7 separate regions of the Homo sapiens genome follow, and all the other regions are linked to region 4. The links are contacts of gene promoters, found by promoter capture Hi-C in blood cells and fetal thymus (Javierre and others, 2016). All regions are on one chromosome and are shown on one strand. Each heading gives the region's core, a stretch centred on a gene start or on the middle of the fragment in contact. The rest is flanking DNA. Distances are from core to core; before and after follow the strand shown. Region 1 overlaps KLHL32 (kelch like family member 32). Region 2 holds the start of NDUFAF4 (NADH:ubiquinone oxidoreductase complex assembly factor 4). Region 3 overlaps MMS22L (MMS22 like, DNA repair protein). Region 4 holds the start of POU3F2 (POU class 3 homeobox 2). Region 5 holds the start of KLHL32 (kelch like family member 32). Region 6 overlaps MMS22L (MMS22 like, DNA repair protein). Region 7 overlaps KLHL32 (kelch like family member 32).

Region 1 (3,388 bases), core at 365-2,864, 1.8 Mb before region 4:
TAGAAATTAATACCCCAAAAATTAAACAGGCGTAAATCTAACAAAATATGTACAAAAAATGCAGTTTTCCTATGTGAGTATCTTTTTTTTTTTTTTTTTTTTTTTTTTTTTGAGACGGAGTTTCGCTCTGTCGCCCAGGCTGGAGTGCAGTGGCGCGATCTCGACTCACTGCAAGCTCCGCCTCCCGGGTTCACGCCATTCTCCTGCCTCAGCCTCCTGTGTAGCTGGGACTACAGGCACGCGCCACCATGCCCGGCTAATTTTTGTATTTTTAGTAGAGACGGGGTTTCACTGTGTTAGCCAGGATGGTCTCGATCTCCTGACCTCGTGATCCGCCCGTCTCGGCCTCCCAAAGTGCTGGGATTACAGGCGTGAGCCACCGCGCCCGGCCGAGTATCTTTTTATATGCTTATTTGCCACCTGTCTTCTTTGGTGAGGTATCCGCTCAGATCTTTTACACCCCCCTCCCGCCCCCATTTCAAAAAATCAGATGGTTCATTTTTTTCATTGTTGAGTGTTAAGATCTTGTTTTTTGATATTTTGGATAACATTCCTTTAGCAGATGTATCTGTTGCAAATATTTTCTCTTAGCCTATGGCTTGTCTTCTCAATTTCCTAATAGTGTATTTTGTGGAGCAGAAGTTTTTAATTTTAAAAAAGTCCAAGTTGTCAATTATGTCTTTCATGGACCATGTTTTTGGTGCTGTATCTAAAGAGTCATTGTCATACCCAAAGTTATCTAGATCTTCTCCTATGTTACCTTGTAAGAGTTTTCTAGTTTTGCATTTTACATCTACATCTGTAATCCGTTTTGAGTTTATTTTTGTGAAGGATTTGAGAGCTGTGTCCAGGTTCAATTTTTGTATGTGAGTGTCCAATTAATCTAGCCCCATTCTTGAAAAGACTATCTTTTATCCATTATTATTATATTATCTATAATATTATCTATGCTCTTTCATTGACCATATTTATGTGAGTCTGTTTCTGAGCTCTCTGTTCTGTTCCATTGATCTGTTTCTCTCTTCTTTTGCCAATGTCACACTGTCTTGATAACTGTAGTTTTTTTTAGTCTTGAAGCGGGTATTGTCAGTCCTCCAACTTTGTTCTCCTTCAACATCGTGTTGGCTATTTTGGGTCTTTTGCTTCTTCATATAAGCTTTAGAATCTGTTTGTTAATACACAAAAAATAACTGTGGGATTTTGAATAAGATTACATTGAATCTATAAATTGAGTTGGGAAGAACTGACATCTTGACAATATGGAGTCCTTTTTATCCACAGACATGGGCCATCTTTCCATTTATTTAGTTTTTCTTTGATTTCTCTCATCAGAGTTTTGTAGTTTTCCTCATATATATATGTGCTAAGTCCCATGGCTAATGCCCTGATTGCCTACCAATATTCATTTCCTCTTTTTTCTTTATATAGAACTCTAATTTGATTTGGGACTATGGTGCATCTAGCCATAAAAATTTAATTTCCCAGGCTCTTTTACAGCTATGTGTAGCCACCCAGCCAATGAGATGTAAATGGAAGTCTCTGTAACAGTGTTTGTAAGAAATCTATTGTTTTTCTGATAAACAATGCCAGACTCAGCTGGCAAATGTTTTTTGTTCTTTGACCTCTCCTTTCTTTCTGCTTTGAATGTAGACATAATGCCTGGTGGTATGGCAGCCAATTTGAGACCATGAAACCACAGCCTGAGATTTGCCAAGCAGGAAAATACAAGGAGGCTGGTTGCCACTCTAAGTGGCCTAATCCAAATGTTATTGGAAAAGTAACCCTTATATTTGTTTAAGCTGCTTTGTTACATATAGACACACACAATTGTAATGATACACAAGCATTCTTTTGGTCCTTAAAACAGTTTTTGAGGTAGACATCATTATTTTCACTGTACAAATAAGAACACTGAGGCACCTGGAGTTGAGCTGTTCTCCCAAGTTGATTCTGTCAGCAAGTGTAGGAGCCAGGATTTGAAAGCAGACAGCGTGACCTAGAACACATGGGCTTATTAGTTCACCAGATGTCTGTGGAGACCCAGGATGAGGTAGGGGTGGGGAGAGATCTTGCCAAGCTTTGTATAAGGAGTGGATTTAGAGTTGGATCTTGAAATGAGTAGGATTTTGACATATGGAAATTAAAGGAATGAGGAGGACATTGAAGATGGAGAACAAGGTATTGCCTGAGTGTGGAGACTAGTAGATTACTGGCTTTAGCAAAGGGACCAGAAGGTCATAAAACTGGAGAAAAGTTTTTAACAGCAGGTTGGGGCTACATGGTGAGGTTTTCCAAATACAAGCCTCAAAAGTTTGAATTCTCTGATTCATAGAGAACTACTGAATTCTAGCCAGTATTGCTCAGATGGAGCACTTCAACAGGCATATTTATGAACATTTCCCAATATGATCACAACATTTAGAAACTGGAATTCATGTGTTTTATTATCCTTACCTGAACTATGTTTTTCTTTCTTAAAAATAAACTTCAGATGTCAGATATAGATGTGCAGTGCATGAGTCAATTTAGAAAATTCTTTTCCTTTAAATGGCTGCCACCTTGTGGATAAAAAGTCCTTAGTGCAGTGGTTTTGAAACTAAAACTAGATTGGTAGAAATTTCTCATAGCTAGATAGATCTTGTGTTTCATGTTCCATCTGTGAGAATTCTGTCATAAATAACTTTATGCAAAACATTTTATGTGTGTTGAATATATGATCATTTAACAGCTATTTATGCTGTTGTATCCAGTTCATTTGATGATTATAAATTCAAGATTCTGATAATTTGCCATTCTGTAATACTATACAGGAAAAAAAAAATACCAAAGAAACAAACTATAAAGAAGGGAGGAAATGTAATCATTTATTCTCATAAATGGTATTAGACCACTCTAATTTGCAGTTGTACAAGCGCTTGTTTTGCTTGCAAAAGCGTGTTGTTCATGTGCACACATGGTATGTGTGTTTACTAAAGACCTTAGTTGTCTGATTTTAACATGCTCAAATCCTTCAGTCCACTGTACACATAGACCAAGAAGCAGGTAATTAAAAAATCTCCTTATGCAAGAAATGAAGAAGATAGCTTTGAAGATCTGAAGATACAAAATTTTCTGAAGATGCCAACTCACTTGATCACAGGCAGGAGAAAAAAAAAGGTCACACTGAGACTTACCATGGCTGTTAAAGACAGTCCCTACCAGCCACCAATCCAAGAGGCTAGGTATAAGGGAGAGGGAAAATAAAGAGAAAAAGAAGACAGAATTGAGAGAGTGGACATCTGATGATCCAGGAGGATGAGCTGAAGAAGGAGGGGCAGGGATGCCCTGGGGACTGTGGGGTGTCCCTACTCCCACCGCTCAGTCCCAGCTCCACCCTCCCAGAGCCCCC
Region 2 (3,360 bases), core at 408-2,907, 1.9 Mb before region 4:
TTTACACATAGGTTCCCATTCCTAATGTATTCTTTGATCCTTCTAATTTTAAATATCCTATCTGAATACATCCTTAAAAAAACAAACAGGAACACCCCACAAAATCCAACAACACCACTTACTAAAGGAGTCTCTGAGATTAGAACATACCTCAATCCACAGAAGAATGAGAAAATAATATTAAAGCTCTGCTTTTGTCACTCAAATGACAACCACTGGAAGTAATGCCTTACCAAATCCTACAAATTCTGAAATACTATGAAATAATTCACACAGTTGCTTGTATCAATACTTCCACAAGTTATTTTAGAATTCTGGTAAATATCCAGTGAACCAAGGCATAAGTGTCTTGCTGTCTTACACCAGTGTGCTTAAACTTTGCCAAGGCGTGTAGATTGATCACAACACACACTTGCAGAGCACTCTTTTTACTACTTGCCACACTTAATCATTTTCCTGAAGCCCCAAAATAAGTAAATTGTGTATTCACTTAATTAAACACACATTTACCTGCAAGGAAGACACAGGATCTTTGGAATCAACATACACATCTTTTAGAAACGACAGCAGCTTTTCATCTTTACGAGCAATCTCTCCTTTAACTTCTGGATAGACTAAGGAAAGGAAAAAAGTCACAATATTAAAATCAAGGAAAATTTCCTGTAATATCCTAAACGCTTAACACAAACGCTTTCTTTTATTTTCTTTTTTGAGTCGGAGTCTCGCTCTGTTGCCCAGACTGGAGTGCAGTCGCGCGATCTCGGCTCCCTGCAACCTCCGCCTCCCGGGTTCGAGAGATTCTCCCACCTCAGCCTCCCGACAAGCTGAGGCTACAGGCGCGCCACCACGCCCGGCTAATTTTTGCATTGTTTGTAGAGACGGGGTTTAGCCATGTTGGCCAGGCTGGTCTCGAACTCCTGACCTCAGGTGATCTGCCCGCCTCGGCCTCCCAAAGTGCTGAGATTACAGGCTTGAGCTACCGCGCCCGGCCTAACCACTTTAATTTTTTTAAAAAATAAACATAATCATTTGGACTGTTAGGAAAATACTTTAGATGGAAATCAAAATTCCAGGTCAGGCTCTGCGTCCATCGTCCAGTGAAGACCCCTAGAGAAAGCTCTGTGACCCTCTCGGATTTTGATTCCCTGTATCAAGTCCGTGACAGCAGCCGGCGAGGGCCTGGTTAGCGGGAGCACTGGCTGCTGCCTCTGGGTCTCGGAAGTAGGCGGGGCCGCCGACCTCACCGCGGGCGCGGAGGACAGTCTCAATGTCACCGGCCTGGCGGCTCCCCCTTCCAACGCTCCGCCAACCCGAGCGGCTGCGGCCGAGCAGGCTGACGCCGATCCCTCGGCCTCCGGACCCACGCTAGGGACAGCCGGGCAGCACAGGGACTCCGCGCCCCCGGGCCCCGAAACGCCCTCGCACCACTCACGACTAATCTGCTCTCGCAGGAGGCTGTTGGTAGAGGGGTGTCTGGGAGCGACAGAGGGCTTCATCTTGCTGATTTCCCGTTCCGCTCGGTTCTCTAGGTTGAAATTCCTGATACCGCGAATCACTAGTGCTCCCATCTCCTCATAACATTATGCGCTCAGGTTCAGGCCGCACGTGGGAACACCGGCGCAGGACAACTCCGGGACACCCGGAGCATGCGCACAAGTGAGGGGAAGCCCCGCCGCGGGCGCTTAAATGCGTGCCCGTCGCCCCCTAGCGCTCGGGAGGCCACACACCGCTTCTCTGCCCAGGGCATTTAAAAGGGAGCCCCTCCCTTCGGGGCGAGTGACGGCTCCCACGAGGGCCGCTTCCGGCGGGAGGTGGCGGGGCTTAAGTCCCCAGACCCACGGTTGCTTTTAACGCTGGAACTCCGAGGGAGTCACCCGGGAAGCTCTGTAAAGTTCTGTGCCGGGCCCTACCCCAGACTTTCTGATTTAATTCTTGTGGAGTGAGGCCCAGCATTGGATAAGACTCCACGTGATTCCAAAGTTTCAGTGAAGAGCTGAAAATCAAAGTCGTAAGGAAGTTGACCTTGAAGTTGTTTCACAGGGCAATGCCACCAAAGAGTTAGCCGATAAAAATGGAACTTACTGAACCAGGGTCAAACTGGGCTCTCAAGTTGCCCTTTCCTGCTTTTGTGAAAGGAAAATAATGAAAGGATGTTCCCTTTCGATGAGTATTTGTTCTCAGCCGCTCTCATTTAAATGCCTCTTATTTTCCTGTCCCCCCGCCTGATGCATTTTCAAGCCACTGTATTCTTTTTCCATTATTTTTTACATCCCGTTCTCATTTGACCTAATGGTATCGATTTTAGTTATACTTTCCCTTATCTTATTTTTGCTACTAATTTACTTCTCCATGCTACTAAATGCTGAGTCATTCCCTCTCCTATTTCTCTTCTCTCTTGCCTTCTTCATTCTTTTTAAGCCTCTGTGTAATTTAATGAAAGGAACAGACAATAAGACGTCAGAAAAAAAAAACAAACAAACAAAAAAACGAGTGTTACATTCACCTTCTCCGTCTCTCTCCATTTCCTGAATGGGTTACTGTAGTGCTGCTTTTATTTAAGACCCTTTAGAAATATTGTTATTAATCTAAAATAAAACCCACCAGGAAGGAAGCAGTAGGAAGGAAGTTACAGTATTTCTCTTACTGTGGCTGCAAAATCTATTTTTAGTGTTCTGATCTCTGCTTAGCAAAATGAAGTAGAGTGGATGTTTTTAACCAGCTTAAAGTAAGAAAATATTGATGTAAAGATAATCGAATAGAATAATAATAATAAAACAAGAATCAAAGAACCAAAATGAAGAAAGGGAAAGTTTTTTAAAAAGAAAACTAATGTAATCATTAAGTATAATGCTTAATCAGAGCAAAAGCACTGCAAGGAAGACGGCTTCAGCCACTCTAATTTAAATGCCCTTTATTTAATTATACTGAACATTTTTACAGGGATTGGTATTTGGAATTTATAGAAGCTGAAATCAGTGATCTCAGATAGCATTAACTGGGAAGTTATCCTGAAGGTGGCAGGCTGCTCCAAGATTTCTATCTTTGATACTTTTAAGCATGCTTGTGATTCAGGGCTTTTTAGGCACGGTATTTCTATTTCTATGGGTGCTAAGAAATTTTAATCTGCCTCATTATGTCTATGTGCTTTAATCATGGTAGCAATTCGACTCACTGCCTGTTAAAATATTTTAAAAGTGAAAATCTCATTTTCATAGAAATTCCACCGAACTTCGGGCAGTATGAAAAAGTAATGTTAGAAGTGACTGTCAGGACAGTAGGGATTACAATATGAAATAATTATTTGAATTCACACATTCCAATAGAGCTTGGATTCAACATTGAAAGAGCTTCCAGCATGTG
Region 3 (3,763 bases), core at 505-3,004, 1.7 Mb before region 4:
AGCCATAAATTTTCTTCTTTTTTCAATTTAAAAAAAAGCTTTAAAAAAAGTTACTTATACATAAATACAAAACATATAATACACACACATATTGTTACACACTTTGTTGTTACCATTCTTAAGTACAAATTTTAGTTATTCTTAGTATCTATAGATATATGTCCTAAAGCATGATTCAGTAGCAGCTTTTCCTATCCTTTAAACGTTTTCATACTCTAAGGAGCAAGATTCTCAAAGGTATCTTTATCAATCTCCTTTGGAAAAAAAAAACCCACACACACACACACACACACACACACACACACACACACACAAAAACACATATACACATAAATAACCTCTTTAAAGGCATCACCTTAAATAGATAAAACTCCTTAGTGACTGCTGGAACTTTCCAAGCCATACATTATTTGTTTAGTAAGTCACTATCATGATGAAAAGAAATTCAGTGTTATGAAGTCTATTAAACAGCCTTAAGCTTTCATTTATTCCCTTTGATGAAGCTGATTTGAGAGAAGGACCATTTATATGTTATGAAAATAACAGACACTCCTTTGGATTTCACAGATTATAATTAAGAGAACGCTATTAACTACAGAATACTGATTGCAAAGTATTTCATTTTTAAAGATACTCCTTGAGCCAGAGAAGGGTTGAAATGTTTTCTTGAAGGAAGAGTAGAACCATGATAAAGACTATAATCCCAAGAAGGAAACAAAGTACTTCAAAGTTAGAAAACATGATGTAAGAAAACATTGGAAAGTGGGATCATTCATCTGGGACATATCATTAGAGAAAGATAAAATTGAGAGGTGTTCTTTGCCTTAATTGTGCACGAGTAATAAACTAATCGTGTCTGTACATTTCCCAACAGAATTTGGGCCACCAAATATTTTCACGTACATTATCCCATTGATTCTCACAACAACACTGTCAAATAGTAAAGGGATTCTTCTTTTCTTCTCCATGAAGAAACTAGACTGAGAAAGGTTACGTAACTAGCTCAAGATCATAAAGCAAAGCTGAGTTTGAGACCCAGGTGGGTTCCCAAAACTAGGACTGGAGCTCTTTCAACCAAATAATGCTCAATAGGAAAAGGAGTCAAGGACAAGCTCCAACTGGTAAAACAATCTGGATGAGTTAAGAGTTCAAAAGTTGAGAAACAATGTTGTTAAAGGAAACTAAACAGGTTTCTTGGATAAAATGCTAAGTTATAAGAAGCTCTGGCTAAAGAGCAAGAAGATGGATCAGCTGACTTCTCAGACCACTACTATTGTTACTTTTCTAGAATATTTTTATTTACTCTCCTCTTAAAGTCTCCTTTATTTCCTCCTCCTGATATGATTTTTTTTTTAATGACAACTCCAAAAGAAAGGATGAATAAAAAAAAAATTTGGCAACTCTTGGAACCTAAATATAAACCCTGTTGGCATGTTTACACTTCTTTTTGGATATCAGCTGTATAATCCTTTAGCCAGATTCAGTCTCATTCCTAACACAGTTAAGTGTGCTTTGTAAGGGTTTTCTTTGTTAACTTGCCTCACACATATAAAAAAGAAAAACAAATACACAGTCACATTTCCCAACACCTTTCCCCCACCAAAAACACAGTATAGGGTAGCCAGGTACTTTGAAAAAGTATCATTTTAAAACATAACTATTATTGTAAAAATAAAAAATAAACATGACAAATCAGTCACAAGGCAGGGAGGCAGGAAGTCATACTACAACAAAAAGTCTATGGATGAAGTATCTGCTTAATACTCACACACAGAAAACACTCTCAGAAAATGTTTCTTTAATTTAGTTTAACTAAAATTTCATCAAGGTAGAATGCAGTTTTGTAAAAAGTTCCAAGGATCCTATTACACAGTTGCTAATTAACCTTCAGTTCCTTATTTATACATTTTTTACTTACAGATATAAAAGGAAAAAAAATCCTAGAAATTATTTTAAACAGAACATTATACAATTAATTAAAAGTAGGAATTAGAGTGGAACAATGTGGCTTTAGATACTGATAATTAATAGACAGGATGAATCACAAAATATATTAAGTATTATCATTTTCCAGTCTCTGCATCTCATCTTGTCCCATCTGTCCAAGGTGAGACAAAAGTTTGCTATAGGCTTCCCTGTTTAAGAAAAAAGAAAAGAAAGCAAATATATTAACATTTTCATTATTTTTCATTTCAGTATTTACAAATTAAGTCTGCCCATCATCCATCCATCCATCTATTCAGCCATCCATCCAGCAGGCTTAGCACAACACTTCTTAAAAAGTAATGCTTTATATCTATTGTGAGTAAACCTAGATGTTAAGATGTATTAAAGTATGATTTTTATATATAAAATGTGTGCTAAAAATGACATGTAAAAGTTCATTAACCTTCCGAAATATTATAATGCTCACGGGTAATAAAATGCATTCATGGAATATTATTTAAGGACAATGATGGTATGATTACAATGGGAAGACTTGTATCACAAGCGTAAGTATTAAAACAAAAATTCTGTAACCATAAAATAGACCTGTGTAGCAATTTCAGTATATATCCCATTTTCTTCTTTTAACTTCTTATAAGTAACAAAGTTTGAAAATAAAATATTGTTTCTCCTCCTACATTCTCTAGTACTTCCCTGTATTTGGAAGGTGTTTTAGATGATTTATTGTGCCTAGTAGTTATCTCACTAGTCTAAATACCTGTTCTGTTCAGAATCTTTAGAACCAAACTTCTTATGGGCCTGCATAACCACACAAGGTAGTAGGCCAGAATATTTGTTTTAACAACATACTGCATTAGGGTGGTTCACACACAGCCTCTCTAGTTTTTTCACTCAAATTTGAAGACTGCTCAGAGAAGCCAGATGTGAGACATGTCTGTGCATGAGCTTGTTTTGTGACATGACAATAAACACCATTTCTTCAAGCTACAATTTGAAGTGATTCAATCTTCTCTCCTTAGAAAACCACAGGAGGCTAGCCAAGTCACCATGCAGAAGAAAGGAGATGTTCCATTCTGGCATACAAAAGCTTTACAAGGATGATCTCTCCAGTCCGCACCCCCTGCCTTTTATATGAAATGGCATTGAAAAAATGGATTCCATTAGTTAGCTAAAGCTATAATCAACATAGTCATGTCTTCAAGAAAGATCTCATATATTGTTTAATAAAAAATTTTTGTCTAAAAATTGGAATATGCATATTCATTAGAGTGTGTATTTGTACAGATAAACAGACACACATGCATATGATTATAGTCATGCACTACATTAAAAACATTTTGGTCAATGATGGGCTGCATTTTGGTCAATGATGGATCCCATTAAGATTATAATGGTACTGAAAAATTCCTAATGCCTGGTGATGTTGTAGCCATTGTAATGTCTTAGTGTAATGCCTTACTCGTGTTGTTTGTGGTGATGCAGGTATAAACAAACCTATTGTACTGTCAGTCATATAAAAGTCTAGCACACACAACTATACATAGTATATAATACTTGATAATAAGAAAGAATGTTACTGGTTTATGTATTTACTATACTTTACTTTTTATTGTTATTTTAGAGTGTACTCCTCTTTATACTTATAAAAATAAAAGTTAACTGTAAAACAGACTCAGGCAGGTCCTTCAGGAGGTATTCCAGAAGAAGGCTTCCTTATTGCAGGAGACGACAGCTCCATGTGCGTTACTGACCCTGAAGACCTTCCAGTGAAGTAAGATGTAGAGGTGGAAGACAGTGATGTTGATCATCCTGACCC
Region 4 (3,275 bases), core at 87-2,586:
GGCGGCACCTGCTCTGGGCGGCTAAAGAACTGATGGCGCGACGCGCCCGCGCTCCGTAGAGCGGCGCTGCGGGTGCATGGTCCCATAGTCTTGCTCTGGAGTTCACTGCTGAAAGCTGAGCTGGGAGCTTGGCCAGGGAGCGCCAAAGACATAGACTAACCCCACCCGCTAGCGCCCACCGAAGTTACTGATTAGGAAGGTTCCCCTGGCATCAGCCCATTTGCTTCACACACTCTTCCTCCTTCCCAAGGGGCTAACGGAAAAGTTGCACCTACCAGCGGTAGGAGCACGGGGAATCGCGCACGCAGGCCCTCCGCGCGGCTTCCCGGAGCGGCCTTTGGCGACTGCGCCGCCCCTACAAGGCCGCACACCCCTCGCCAGCACTCCGGCAGCCTCGCACAAGACGGAGCCCACGCAGGCTTCTAGTTTTCTAAACCAAAAACTGCACGCGCCGGCGTGTGAATCTGACGGAGAGACTTTTAGAGTTTTGTTTGGTTTTCAGTTCAGACCGCTACGCTGTCAGAGCAAGCAACTCCGAGCCTTGATGGGAATGACTTACAAGCCGCGGTGCGGGCTGAGCCTGCCTCTCTCGGGGTTCTTTCCCCAAGGGAGTGGGAGACAATTGGGCCTGGAACCTAAAAGGAAGAGAGCCTGTGCTAGCCGCGGGGTAGAGGGGAAGGAGAAGAGCTTTGGGCCGAAGTGTCCGCACACCCTGGAGCAAGAGACACTTGTGCACTGAAATTCTAACCGTGGGATGCAAGGAGAGTTGAACAGGGGAACAGGTCTGGCTCTTGGCTCTAGGTTTAAGAGATACACACTGTGTGTGTGTCCCTAGGTGAATAAAAATCCGACTCCCGCTGGCTCGGTGCGACCCAGCTTTTCCCTTACCCCCTCCGTTTCCCCATCTTAAAGCCCTATTGGGAAACGAAAGTGGACACCACTGCCTCCCGCCCCCCACCCCAATCCAAGTCTTCCAAGTGTCTGTGGCCGATAAGAGCACCGGGACCGCCCCCCTGCCGGTCTTCTCTGCCTGGGAGACAGATGGGGGGCGGGGCCCATCCGAGAGAGGGCGGAGGAGGCCCCGGGTGAGGAAGAAGCGGGGGGGTGAGAACTGAGAGAATCTGAATCGGGAGGCGAAGGGGACGGGGAGGAGGGCTAGGAGGACTCCGAGCCCGGGGGAGGGGGAGGGAGTAGCTCTGCGCCAATCAGTGGCGCCGGCCTGGGAGGTTGCTAGCGGTATCCACGTAAATCAAAGGGCGCGGAGCCAATGGGAGGGGGCGGAGGGGGCGGGGCCCAGGCGCGTGCCGCTGCGAGCCGGCGCTGCCAAGAGAGCGGGAGAGAGCTGGAGAGAGCAGGGAGAGGGGGGAGCGCCGAGCTAGTCAGAGAGTGAGCGAGAGCGAGAAGGAGGGAGAGGAGGAGAAAGAGAGCGAGGGCGGGCGGGAGGCGGCGGCGGCGGCAGCAGCAGCAGTAATAGCAGGAGCAGCAACAGAAGGCGTCGGAGCGGGCGTCGGAGCTGCCCGCTGTGGGAGAGAGAGGAGACAGAAAGAGCGAGCGAGGAGAGGGAGCCCGAGGCGAAAAAGTAACTGTCAAATGCGCGGCTCCTTTAACCGGAGCGCTCAGTCCGGCTCCGAGAGTCATGGCGACCGCAGCGTCTAACCACTACAGCCTGCTCACCTCCAGCGCCTCCATCGTGCACGCCGAGCCGCCCGGCGGCATGCAGCAGGGCGCGGGGGGCTACCGCGAAGCGCAGAGCCTGGTGCAGGGCGACTACGGCGCTCTGCAGAGCAACGGACACCCGCTCAGCCACGCTCACCAGTGGATCACCGCGCTGTCCCACGGCGGCGGCGGCGGGGGCGGTGGCGGCGGCGGGGGGGGCGGGGGCGGCGGCGGGGGCGGCGGCGACGGCTCCCCGTGGTCCACCAGCCCCCTGGGCCAGCCGGACATCAAGCCCTCGGTGGTGGTGCAGCAGGGCGGCCGCGGAGACGAGCTGCACGGGCCAGGCGCCCTGCAGCAGCAGCATCAGCAGCAGCAACAGCAACAGCAGCAGCAACAGCAGCAACAGCAGCAGCAGCAGCAGCAACAGCGGCCGCCGCATCTGGTGCACCACGCCGCTAACCACCACCCGGGACCCGGGGCATGGCGGAGCGCGGCGGCTGCAGCGCACCTCCCACCCTCCATGGGAGCGTCCAACGGCGGCTTGCTCTACTCGCAGCCCAGCTTCACGGTGAACGGCATGCTGGGCGCCGGCGGGCAGCCGGCCGGTCTGCACCACCACGGCCTGCGGGACGCGCACGACGAGCCACACCATGCCGACCACCACCCGCACCCGCACTCGCACCCACACCAGCAGCCGCCGCCCCCGCCGCCCCCGCAGGGTCCGCCTGGCCACCCAGGCGCGCACCACGACCCGCACTCGGACGAGGACACGCCGACCTCGGACGACCTGGAGCAGTTCGCCAAGCAGTTCAAGCAGCGGCGGATCAAACTGGGATTTACCCAAGCGGACGTGGGGCTGGCTCTGGGCACCCTGTATGGCAACGTGTTCTCGCAGACCACCATCTGCAGGTTTGAGGCCCTGCAGCTGAGCTTCAAGAACATGTGCAAGCTGAAGCCTTTGTTGAACAAGTGGTTGGAGGAGGCGGACTCGTCCTCGGGCAGCCCCACGAGCATAGACAAGATCGCAGCGCAAGGGCGCAAGCGGAAAAAGCGGACCTCCATCGAGGTGAGCGTCAAGGGGGCTCTGGAGAGCCATTTCCTCAAATGCCCCAAGCCCTCGGCCCAGGAGATCACCTCCCTCGCGGACAGCTTACAGCTGGAGAAGGAGGTGGTGAGAGTTTGGTTTTGTAACAGGAGACAGAAAGAGAAAAGGATGACCCCTCCCGGAGGGACTCTGCCGGGCGCCGAGGATGTGTACGGGGGGAGTAGGGACACTCCACCACACCACGGGGTGCAGACGCCCGTCCAGTGAACTCGAGCTGGGGGAGGGGCAGAGCGCGGGGCTCCCCCTCCCCTTCGGTCCTTGGCCCTTTCCCGGCCCTCTTGTTCCCTCTCTAACTTCTGATTGTTCTTTTATTTTTAATTATTATTTCCCCGTCCCTTAAAAAGACAAAAAAAATAAGGCAAAAGGAAAGCAACTAAGACACTGGACTATCCTTTAAAGGTAGCAGGTGTAATGATGTGTTTTGACCTTTGCAGGCGAGTAACCAGGCAATGGAGTGGAGTGTCTCCTGGAGAGAGTGAGGAGAGTGTGTGATAGCTAGAAAGAGAGAGAGACA
Region 5 (3,285 bases), core at 204-2,703, 1.9 Mb before region 4:
GTTTTATTTATTGATACCAGTCACTGTCAATATTTTTGGTTCAAAGACGCTTTCATATTCGATTTTCTGATAGAAGACAACGCAATGAAAACTATCAAGTTGCTTATGAAAAATTCTTAGGATGACACTGCACCTAATGTTTGTAGTCAGTTGTTTGTCATTCTTTCCCTTGTCCTATGCTGTGTCCAGGACTGCTAGATAAGTAGGTACCCAGCATCCTAGCGTCCAGATATCAAAACCATGAAAATGAAGCACTACAAGCCAGACAGATAACCTCCAGAGGGAGCAAACGAATAAACCCCCAAATCCTGTGGATCTAGAAGTAGAAAATAATCGCTGAACCACTGATTTGAGACCAATGAGAACATTAAGGACACCTCAAAATAGATCAGGGCACTGTTCCTAGCCCAACTCTGTGGCAGAACATAAACCTGCAAGAAATAGGATTAACATACTATCTTTGCAGTAAGTTAAATCCTGAACTTCTACAAAATACAGTTTACTCCAATTTAGTTACACTCTTCCTGCTTCTGGTGTCTTACCTCCACGTTGGACTAAGGTTTTCAATTCGGTGGTGGAATACTTACCTATTAAAATTACCCACTTTGCTTTAGTGTGAGTTTCTCAGCATGTTTTACACAGGAGTGACCTGAATGACTCGGAAGTGGCACTTGAGTGTGCCAGGCCCTGGAATTTAATGGTATGGTTCTGTGGTTGTTGTCTGTTTGCGGTTTTATTGCTGAATTAGTAGTAACCACAGTAATCACACCCTTTCTCATTTCTCAGGCTTGGGGATTTCGTCCACCTCTGGCGGGTTGGTTCCCCTGACGTTTCTTAAAGTTACTGTGAATTTGTTCTGGTCAGTACCATAGAGTGTATTATCCTAAGGAGGGCCACTGTAGGGCCGCTAGGACTAGAGGCAACTTGAACTTCACAAGTTAGCAGAGCAAGGACTCCCTGGAACACCGAGTTAGGGCCACGGGGTCTGTTTGCTCAGATTGCCCGCCAGCCCTGGGAAAGGAGTCTGGGGGCGAGCAGGCTGGGTTCCCGGGTCTCAGTCGCCGCAGTGGTGGCTACAGACTGCGCATGTGACCCAGGGGCCGGCGACGCAGGTGCCGGAGAGCGAGGAGGAGGGCGGCGTGGAGGAGGGTACTTCCGGGACCGGCGGGCGCGCGCTGGCAGCTCGCCGACGGCGGGGGCGGGGGCGGGGGGCGGCAGGGGAGCGAGCGCGCTGGCGGCGGGCGGTGGCGTTGCGCGCGGGGTGGCGAAAGGATGTGCGCGGGATCGCGGGGGAGGGGGAGGGAGCGCGCGGGCTAGCTGGAGGCGGGAGGGGGCGGAGCCCTGTGGCGTCTGAACCCGCCCCGGGGGTGCCAAGGTGCGTCTCCAGTCTGACGCGACCGCCTGGGGCGGAGTCAGCGGGACGTGCCACCTGCAGTGCTGGCTAGGGCTTTTTATTTACTAGGGAGCAGTTTCCCCGCGCGACAGTTCGGGAGCGCGCAGGCAGTCGCGCGCACACACGCACGCAGGCACACACACACACACACACACACACACACACACACTTTCGCACACACAAACACGCTAGGACGCTCGTCTTCGCTACTGCATCCCCGAACCAGCAGAGCGAAGCTACTGCGGGTTCTGTTAACCTCAGCATCGTGGGGCGAAGCAGAGCCATTGTGCATCAAGGAGAGGCCGGTGCCTGCGCTGCCGTCTCTGGCACCTAACCCAGCAGACCGCTCACCCCATCGGGTAAGCCAGTCTCTCTCCTTGTAACCTGTTCTGCAGACCTGAGGAAGAGGGTGGGAGGCTGCTGGTGCGCCAAGTGGGGGCAGACCCGGAGTTGACATTTCAGGGGCTTGCAGCCCATGCAGCCTCTGCCCGTGTCGTCTAACGGGAGCAGCCACTACTCAGGTTACTTATGCTGCCAGCCCTGGAGTCGCTCCCCCTTTCTTCCCTCCCCCTGAGCCCAATATGTACTGTGCTCCTTGGTTGCCAAGGAGACTTGCTTAAACATCAGCCGTGGGACATCTATTGAAAGAACTGGTTTCTTAAATGATGCCGTTATTTATTTTGATATTTAAAATAAAATATACACTGAGGACCTTTCGTAATTTGGCATTTGTTAATCTGTATTCAGGTGGCGGTTTCATTCAACTTCAAGAAAAGCCGTAATTGCACTATATGGTATGCTTTAAAAAGGATTCGTCAGATGAATTTTTCAACGGATTGTGTCTTGAATCATAATTTACTCCCATTTTGGTGATCTTATAAAGAAAGATGACTGCAGTTTAGATCCCTTCTTCCCCTCTATTTCCAGTTTTATTTTGCAGTTCACTTAGTCGTGATTATTTTAAATTAAAAGCAGATGATTTAATTGTGTTTCCCCACACAAGAATGAGCTTCTATTGTAAATTGACCAGAACAGGAATACGTTTGTGAATTCGTAACGTAAGAAGGTAGCATTCATGACATACATCTTTGCTAGCATTTTTATATCCCCTGCATCAGTATTGAAGCGCAGTTTTTTGCACCTCTGCTCATTTCTGAGAAGATTCTGTTTTTTAAAAAATCTCTTATTGATTATTTTTAGATCTATCTCTATACACAGATAGAGATAGATATAAAATGTGTGCCATGGCTTACTAGAGCTTATATGAAAGTGCAGTGGTTTTTGCTTTTTGTTTTTTTTCTGATGGGACTGGGTCCTCTACTGGAACACTGATAGGCCAATGGAACAGGTCAGCCTAATACCTGGGCTGTCAGTTTTGTTTTATTTTGAGGTCTCGGGTGTCTATTGGGTGAACTTGTAACACAGTACTTGAAGGCATCAGCAATCCAGTAATTACACTTTGCACGAATTTCATGCCTCCATCACAAACAAATGGCCCAGTAAAGATCCACTGGCATTCAAGAATTAATTTTGTTTTCCTTGGATATTTGTTCATCTTTTCTACTTCTTGTTAAATGACCCAAGGAAATAAGTCAAATTCTTCTAATTTAGATTTTAAACTCTGTCATAGAGAGTGTAATAAATAATGTGAGGAGCAAGTAAGCCAAATAATGACAGAGGTAGATAGAGGGGATTTATGCAATTCACAGAGCTTTGGGAGATGAATGATGACAAACATTTTACATTACAGTGTAGAAAGCACTTTTCATATACTTCTTTTTTAATCCTCACAACAACCCTTTGAGGCCAATAAATTACCTTCCATTTAAAGCTGAGGAACCCAAGACTCAAACCTTGCTGAAGGTCACAGCTAGTGAATGGGGAAGCCCTTT
Region 6 (3,740 bases), core at 868-3,367, 1.7 Mb before region 4:
TTCCATGCTAAAAATCTGATAATCTTTTTTAAAGTAATAACAAAGGGCGAGGAATATGGAAATTAAGACTCGGAATAACAATTTACTTAGTTTTCCTATAACAGGCACTGTGCTGTGTGCTTTATATTCACTATTTCATTTAAATTTCTCAAAGAACCACTGAGTTAGTAATATTGTATCTCCATTTTACAGCTAGGATAACTAAGGTTTAGAAAAGTGAAGAGTTTAATACAGTCACACAGAACTCTTGATATCTGGTTGCATGTCTGTTTATTTAATCTCTTACATTTGTATAGCAGTTAACAAAATACTTTCATATATATTACAGTATTTAATACTTAAACCAATACTCTGAGAGAAAATAATGTTTTCTGCTAGTATTAGTAAATATTAAATGCTACTAAATATAGATAATCACCAACACAGCAATACATTATATTATAAAAGTTAACTCTTAATTTGGTACTTGGTGACTCACAACGTATTTTCCAAGAGAAATAATTTAAAATGTTTGAAGTCTCCATTTTAGTTGTAAACGGGTACTTACCCAATAAGAAATTCTGAAAGTTTATTTGTAATGAAAAATAGCATACAGCTGTTAAAACTGTACCAAATAAACAACTGAAAAAAATCAAACAATGAACCCCTCCCCCAACCCACCCGCCACCACCAACTCTGTTTCTTGAGTAGTTTAAGGAAAAGCACATTAAATCAGAAGAAGATGAAGTAATAAATGAATATTTTCTGAAAATTCCGAAGAGGAGAGCTGGGTACCATGAAGAAATTAAAGACATAGCTCCAGTTCTACCAAACAGATAATACACCAAACTTTTAAATTTACCACTTACGAAGCTTAAGAGAATTCTTATTAAATGGACTGTTTGGGTTTAAGAGGACCACATGGAAGAAATATTCCAGACTCTCCTGCTGCTCACCACTCCCCTCTATTCATCTCTCCCTCTGTGGGATTGGCGGTTCAGGCTGTGGTGTGGCTGCCTCCCCTTTTTGTCATTCTGCTAGATTAACACACTAAACTTCATTTTAAATGCTATTATGAATAAAAATTAGAGGGAAAATTTAAAACTTCTCAGGAATCTTAAAACTCTGTTAAGAAATACATCTTTGAAAAAAGATTGTTACATAATCAAAATCCATTTTCCCTTTCCTCCTCAGCTTCCCTTGTTGGACCTCAAATTAAGAAGCACTTATCTTTAACATCAGACACTAATGAATAATAAAGTACACCTCCAGTCTCATCCTTTCCTGAATGGCAGATCAATATTTCCAACTGCCTACCTCAAACTAAAGCTGCTCAGAAACCAATCCTTACCTTCATCCCGACATCTCCAGGATTTCCCACGTTAGTAAGTAGAACTACTATCTACGCAGATAGCCACTCTGGAATCTAGGAAGCATTTCACTTCTTTGAGTTCCTCCACAACACTCAATTAGCAAGTACTCTTAATCACAGCTCCCAAATGTTTTTGAAATCTGCTGTTATGGGTTTTATTCCCACTGCCTTAGGTCAAAACCTTCTGACAATATGTGGATTATTACAAGGAACTAGTTACCACTGCTTTCCAAAACCTCCACACCAATTATCTTACATATGACCACCAGAATCATCTTTCTAAAATGTAAATATCATTATGTCACTTCTACTTCTCTGCTCCAAATTCATCAGGTCCCCATGTAAAAGATTAAGTCCAAACTTCTTAGGATGGAATATAAAGCCCTCCATTACATGGCTCCTCCCATATGACTCTCCAGCCACAACAGAACCATTCTATATTTTCTTAAAGCTCATGCCCTTGTACATGTTGCTCCCTCTGAAATGAAAAGCCCTCCAACTCCTACCCATTTTGCTCTTTTACCTCTGATGTCCTCTACAGTGTATTCTCTTATATCTCCTCACCCATAGTCTAATAGATGAGGTCTGAAAAAAAAAATACTGAGCACACTACCATAAGTGTCTGTGCTCATCTACCTCCTCTCTCAACTTTAAGCTCCTCTGCTTTTTCATTTTTGTTTCCAAAGCCAAACATAAAAGCAATTTAAAATATGTTCAATAAATGTGCCACACAAGCATTTGAGATTATAATGTACAGTTTTTAAATCTGCATTTAGTAAACTATGTTTTTAAGGCAAAGTTTCAATATTTTTTTTTTAAACTTTTAAGCAACCACAGATACTATACCTGGAGATACAAAGGAAGACTTTTCTGAATTGCTGACAACATAGGTGCAGGCAGTTCCTTCTCTTGCTGTAATACTGCATGTGGCAGCAGTAAACAATCTATGATCCGGAATAGTAATTTTTGGGCTTTAGAAGTGGCAAAGATTTGTGCCCATGATTTCACAAGAATTCCTAACAAAGAAGAGAAGTAACAGCATGTTGTTGTTATCCTCTGACCAGAACATTTTGTCACTTAATTTAAAAATTTGTATTGAAAGCACATGGGACCAAATTAAAGTAGGGAATAGGAAGAGACATATAGTAGAAGTAACAAATATTTATGTCAATTCATATATTTCACTAAAGAGACAAATTTTTCATAGAGTTTTGGGCCAAGGAAAACATACATTTTCCGAGCAACTGGCATTTAATATATACACTGGTTAAGTATCCCTAATCTGAAAATATAAAATCTGAAACGCTCCAAAATCCAAAAGTTTGTGAGTGCCAACATGATGATCAAAAGAAATGCTCATTAGACCATTTCAAATTTCACACTGTTGGATTAGGGGTGCTCAACTGGTTAAGTATACTACAAGTATTCCAAAATCCAAAAAAATCTGAACTCCAAAATACTTCTAGTCCCAAGAATTTTAGACAAGGGCTAGTCAACCTGTTTACACTCACACATACAGTGGAATATATTTATACATTATGTGACTACATTGGCTGAATGTTGAAATTATTCAGGATTTCCCTTTCTGCTTTCCCTCTGAGTTGCTAGGATGCCCAAATGCAAATTAACAATCCACCTTTTAAAGAATACTGTAGGATTATACATTATGGTTTTATATGCATACTAATTTTCCCTGGGCCTCACCATGAAACTCTATATTTATTTGTTGGTACCCCTATTTCTTCATATTTTAATCTTACATGTAAGTGGCCTCAATCCAGTTTGCAACAGAAGTATAATTAAATTTAATTGTTAATACATGGAAAGCAGGATTAGCTATAAGCTAATCACTTAACCTCCACCAACTTCAGTTAACCTCCATGAACTTCAGTTTTTACACCTTTCCATTATTTAATATAAACAAACAAAATTTTAATTCTGAATGAAGAGAAACAGATTTCTTTGCTACTTGAAATATATTATGGCTTCCTTGGTGCTAGAAGTCTGTTAATTGCCACATCTGATGATAATAAAGCTTAACAAATGAGCACCCTTTGTTTAATAAAGTAATTAAGAGCAGATATATAATTCCCATTAGGATATATTATTACTATTGAGGTCTCCTTACTGAAAAATGAATTTAAAAACAGATTAAATGCTTATCCAAAAAGCACAGTGGTACATCTACTGCATAAACTTTTATATTTTATTCCATCCTAGAAAGCAAAAACGATAAAATTCAAAGTCATTTCCATCAAATAAAGAGTTTAAAATTTAAGCTCTGAAGGAAAACCAAAATATGCTTATGGAAAAGTATACTGATGTTAAAGAAAAAAACTCAACAAATTATCACTTTTAAGAACAAACAGCAACATTCATCTTTTGTTGT
Region 7 (3,671 bases), core at 215-2,714, 1.7 Mb before region 4:
TTAAAAATGAAAGAAAACAGCTTGTGGAAATAAAAATGAATATTTCTTGACCACCTGTTACATGCTAGGCATAGTGTTGGGAGCTAGATTCTGGGGTAAAATGCTTTACAAAAATATTCAGTAGTTAGGTTAAGGAAATTTATTTCACCTTTATCTCTGAGTGGGAAGTTTTGTTTTCCTTTAATTATTAATGTATTAACTGTTTCTTACTTTTAGTGAGAACTTATTATTTTGTAAGAACAGTCCTTTTCTGGGTAGGCGCGGTGGCTTACGCCTGTAATCCCAACAGTTTGGGAGGCTGAGGCGGGCAGATCACTTGAGGTCAGGAATTTGAAACCAGCCTGCCCAACATAGTGAAACCCCATCTCCACTAAAAATACAAAAATTAGCCAGGTGTGGTGGCAGGCACCTGTAATCCCAGCTGAGGCCTGGAGGCTGAGATAGGAGAATCAGTTGAAGCGAGAGGCAGAGGTTGCAGCGAGTGGAGATTGCGCCACTACACTCCAGCTGGGATGATAGAATGAAACTCCAGCTAAAAAAAAAAAAAAAAAGAACAGTACTTTTCTTACTTCATTAACCTGGGGGTTGAGGACACTTCCTACTTGTATTCTGAGTCTGACTTTGCCTGGACTTAAGTAGATATTAAGACCAAAAAATTTGCTGGCTATGTGAGTGGCGTCAAACAAGGTAAGACCTCAGCAGGGAGGGTTTCCTTTATTCTATTAGGTTGGTGCAAAAGTAATTGCATAAACCCAAGTTATGTCCTATTTTAGTGTGGCAAAGAGGGACCATGTCACCTGATTTGGGGCTGGGGCAATCCTGTTCATATTTGTCCGTGATTATCCATCCCTAGAGGCAGAGGCTGTGCTGTAGTGTTTGCATTACCTACTGCTTGCACTCTATTAATAATAAATAAAAACAACAATGTAGAGTTTCCATATTAAAATGTATTGAATGGATAATAAGACATCCTACTATTCCTACATTAGGCTGGATTTATTCTAAGAAAATTGATATAGAAAATGAGTTTGGCCTTTTAAAGACTGCATTTTTCCTTATATTTTTGTTGGAAATTTGCTTCCCTAAGTCATACTCTTAATAACACATTCATTTTATATCTTGAGAGACATAAGCCACATATTGTTTAGTCAACAATCTCAAATGCAGTGGTTTTTTTGACACGCTCCTCCTGGGCTTTTATGTATACCACAGAATCAGCCACGTTACAGTTTGAATTAATCATTTTCTTCAAAAGGAGTCCCAGAAGTGAACCCAAACAAAAAGCTACTATCCCTTTACAGTTGGAAAGTAGAAGACACTGGTGATGTACTCAGCTTTCATCTTTTATCCTTCGATGATAAATTGACCCAAATGTACCTCTGGCCAGGAAGAAGCAAGGAATTTAAATAGTACTAGATGTCAAACAATACTATTAAAATACTTCCAATTTGAATATCACATCACAGTTTTGAAAATGCATCTTCATTTATTATTGCTTTGTTCTCCTGTAGTACAAAAGGGAAAACTGAGGTTACATATCTAGGAATCAAACTCATGTCTTCTAATTCTTGAGCTATGTCTACTTTGGTCTATAGCTTCTAAATTTGTAATAGAAGCTCAGAAATACTCAGGCGATGGGCACAGAGGTGCATCCAATTAATCCTATGACTTTAACAGGAATTAAGAAGGGCTTGATTAGCTGGGCACAGTGGCTTACGCCTGTAATCCTAGCACATTGGGAGGTTGAGGCAGGCTGATCGCTTGAGCCCAGAAGTTTGAGACCAGCCTGTGCAACATAGTGAGACCCCTGTCTCTACGAAAATATTAGCTAGGCATTGTGGCATGCACCTGTAGTTCCAGCTACCCAAAGGGCAGGTTCACCTGAGCCCAAGAAGTTGAGGCTGCAGTGTGCCGTGATTGCACCACTGCTCTCCAGCCTGGGCAATAGAGCGAGACCCTGTCTGGAAGAAAAAAAACAAAACAAAACGAAACAGAAAAAAGAGCATGACCATTCTAGTTCCCTTGGGTAGTGCCCATGGATTGAACAAATCATGGCCTCTGTGCCTGCCTCCGTGTCTGTGTCATGTTGCTAATTCTAATTCTGTTAGATGACATATGCCTCATTCATTCTTTCATTCATTCCAAATAGTTATTGAGTGCCTGCTCTACCCAGCCATGTCCTGTGGGGTACTACTATTGCCTGCCATATGATGGGTGCTGGGTAGTCAGTAATGGGAAGCACCAACAGGGTCCTGCTGTCATGGGCCTGACAGTGTCTGATGTGGGGCTTTCCGCTTGCTGCTCTTTCCCACCTGCCCAATGCCTTCCCAGTGGGGACTGACCTGTGCCAAATAGCATAATGATTTCTTTGCCAAGTTGGGGCACGTTGAAATGATATGGGTACAATGGAGATGACATGCTTTTGACTGGATGTTTCAATACCAACCAGTGACCCTTCGCCTTTTGTTCAATGCTTTGCTTATTGTTAACTCTCGATAGTTGTATGCACCCTCTAAACAGCTTCGCAAACCTTTGTCAATCCATGTGATACAGTCCAAGCCTCAAACAAATCAGGCTGTGGGTAAACATTTAATCAAAAAATTCTACAAGCTGTGTTCATGTTTTAATATTTGGACCTTGGTAACTAGAAATAGAATAAAATACTAAGAACTCTTATCCTCAAACAAAATTATAATTTTTCATCATGTTCCTGCCCTTCTTCAATTCTCTTTCTTTCTTTTTTTTTTTTTTTTGTTGTTGTTGAGATGGAGTTTCACTCTTGTTGCTCAGGCTGGAGTGCAATGGCACGATCTCAGCTCACCGCAACCTCCGCCTCCCGAGTTCAAGTGATTCTCCAGCCTCCGCCTCCCAAGTAGCTGGGATTACAGGCATGTGCCACACACCTGGCTAATTTTTTTGTATTTTTAGTAGAGACAGGGTTTCACCACGTTAGCCAGGATGGTCTCGATCTCCTGACCTCGTGATCCACCTGCCTCGGCCTCCCAAAGTGCTGGGATTACAGGCGTGAGCCACCGTGCCCGGCCAATTCTCTTTCATACATGCATGTGTTGTTACTATTATTTTCCCAGATAGCTACTTTCTGGGTATCTTCATAATATCTCCTATTTTTTAAAGTTACCATTTCTTAAACTCATCAAATTCGTACATGTGGTCCCAACTTACAAATTTGTACCACTTCTTAATTTTCTTTCTGAAACTTTTTATAGTTTCTCCCAACTACATACAGTTTTTTTCTACAAATGTGATGAGGGTATCTCCATTTCCTTCTTCTTAGATGTTAGTGAAGAGAATAAACAGTGGCTCCTTTGCATCCCAAATAATGTTTTGCCCAGAGGATGTTTTATCCTTTGAGGGGCCCCTAGCTGGACACAGAGTAACACTGCTATTTCAGGGATTGGTGCTCCTAGTTGCCAGAGCATATATTTAATCTTTCCTTCTAATCTATATGCGGCTAACTCCTCTGTGAGGGTGCATCCCACAGTAGCTTGACTCGTGGCTTTGCTGTTGTTTGTCTGGGGTATATGCCTTTGCAAGACGCATGACATGTTCATTTCAGAGGGGCTTTGCTCCAGCTAATCCTCAGTGCTAGAGCTGTGCGTTGCTGAGTAGCTGTGAGGGGCAGTGATTATCAGAAATTACAGGAGACCCAA

Evidence for each region. Contacts are between HindIII fragments. The CHiCAGO score rates a contact against its expected background, and 5 or more counts as called.
Region 1: a fragment that was not itself captured here is called in contact with the fragment with the promoter of POU3F2 in region 4 in 1 of 17 cell types (endothelial precursors); the score reaches 5.8 in endothelial precursors.
Region 2: the fragment with the promoter of NDUFAF4 here is called in contact with the fragment with the promoter of POU3F2 in region 4 in 2 of 17 cell types (activated CD4 T cells and naive CD8 T cells); the score reaches 7.9 in activated CD4 T cells.
Region 3: a fragment that was not itself captured here is called in contact with the fragment with the promoter of POU3F2 in region 4 in 1 of 17 cell types (total CD4 T cells); the score reaches 5.1 in total CD4 T cells.
Region 5: a contact is called between the fragment with the promoter of KLHL32 here and the fragment with the promoter of POU3F2 in region 4, in 1 of 17 cell types (total B cells). The highest score is 7.7, in total B cells.
Region 6: a fragment that was not itself captured here is called in contact with the fragment with the promoter of POU3F2 in region 4 in 1 of 17 cell types (naive B cells); the score reaches 5.6 in naive B cells.
Region 7: a fragment that was not itself captured here is called in contact with the fragment with the promoter of POU3F2 in region 4 in 1 of 17 cell types (M2 macrophages); the score reaches 5.3 in M2 macrophages.

Annotation. Positions count from the first base shown.
Region 1 is chr6:97,057,091-97,060,478 of GRCh38, forward strand. All of the region lies in intron 4 of KLHL32 (kelch like family member 32), which reads left to right. Among named protein-coding and RNA genes, the nearest start is that of KLHL32, 130 kb to the left of the region's middle. The HindIII fragment of the contact is 921 bases long and covers 1,155-2,075 here.
Region 2 is chr6:96,896,234-96,899,593 of GRCh38, forward strand. It overlaps NDUFAF4 (NADH:ubiquinone oxidoreductase complex assembly factor 4), which reads right to left and starts at 1,658. Exons shown (of 3, transcript NM_014165.4): 1 at 1,433-1,658; 2 at 511-614. The coding sequence starts at 1,568. It also overlaps a transcript of KLHL32 not described here. RefSeq lists an enhancer at 1,481-1,580. The HindIII fragment of the contact is 8,617 bases long and covers 1-3,360 here.
Region 3 is chr6:97,144,753-97,148,515 of GRCh38, forward strand. It overlaps MMS22L (MMS22 like, DNA repair protein), which reads right to left. Exons shown (of 25, transcript NM_001350599.2): 25 at 1-2,135. The coding sequence ends at 2,054. Among named protein-coding and RNA genes, the nearest start is that of MMS22L, 140 kb to the right of the region's middle. The HindIII fragment of the contact is 2,556 bases long and covers 477-3,032 here.
Region 4 is chr6:98,833,238-98,836,512 of GRCh38, forward strand. POU3F2 (POU class 3 homeobox 2) reads left to right here and starts at 1,337. Exons shown (of 1, transcript NM_005604.4): 1 at 1,337-3,275. The coding sequence starts at 1,637. The coding sequence ends at 2,968. RefSeq lists a silencer at 1,278-1,347 and enhancers at 1,986-2,055, 2,054-2,650, 2,651-3,246. The HindIII fragment of the contact is 14,703 bases long and covers 1-3,275 here.
Region 5 is chr6:96,923,275-96,926,559 of GRCh38, forward strand. It overlaps KLHL32 (kelch like family member 32), which reads left to right and starts at 1,454. Exons shown (of 11, transcript NM_052904.4): 1 at 1,454-1,752. RefSeq lists a silencer at 1,181-1,490. The HindIII fragment of the contact is 7,655 bases long and covers 1-3,285 here.
Region 6 is chr6:97,165,874-97,169,613 of GRCh38, forward strand. MMS22L (MMS22 like, DNA repair protein) reads right to left here. Exons shown (of 25, transcript NM_001350599.2): 20 at 2,198-2,367. Among named protein-coding and RNA genes, the nearest start is that of MMS22L, 120 kb to the right of the region's middle. The HindIII fragment of the contact is 2,534 bases long and covers 851-3,384 here.
Region 7 is chr6:97,089,245-97,092,915 of GRCh38, forward strand. All of the region lies in intron 6 of KLHL32 (kelch like family member 32), which reads left to right. Among named protein-coding and RNA genes, the nearest start is that of KLHL32, 170 kb to the left of the region's middle. The HindIII fragment of the contact is 5,387 bases long and covers 1-3,671 here.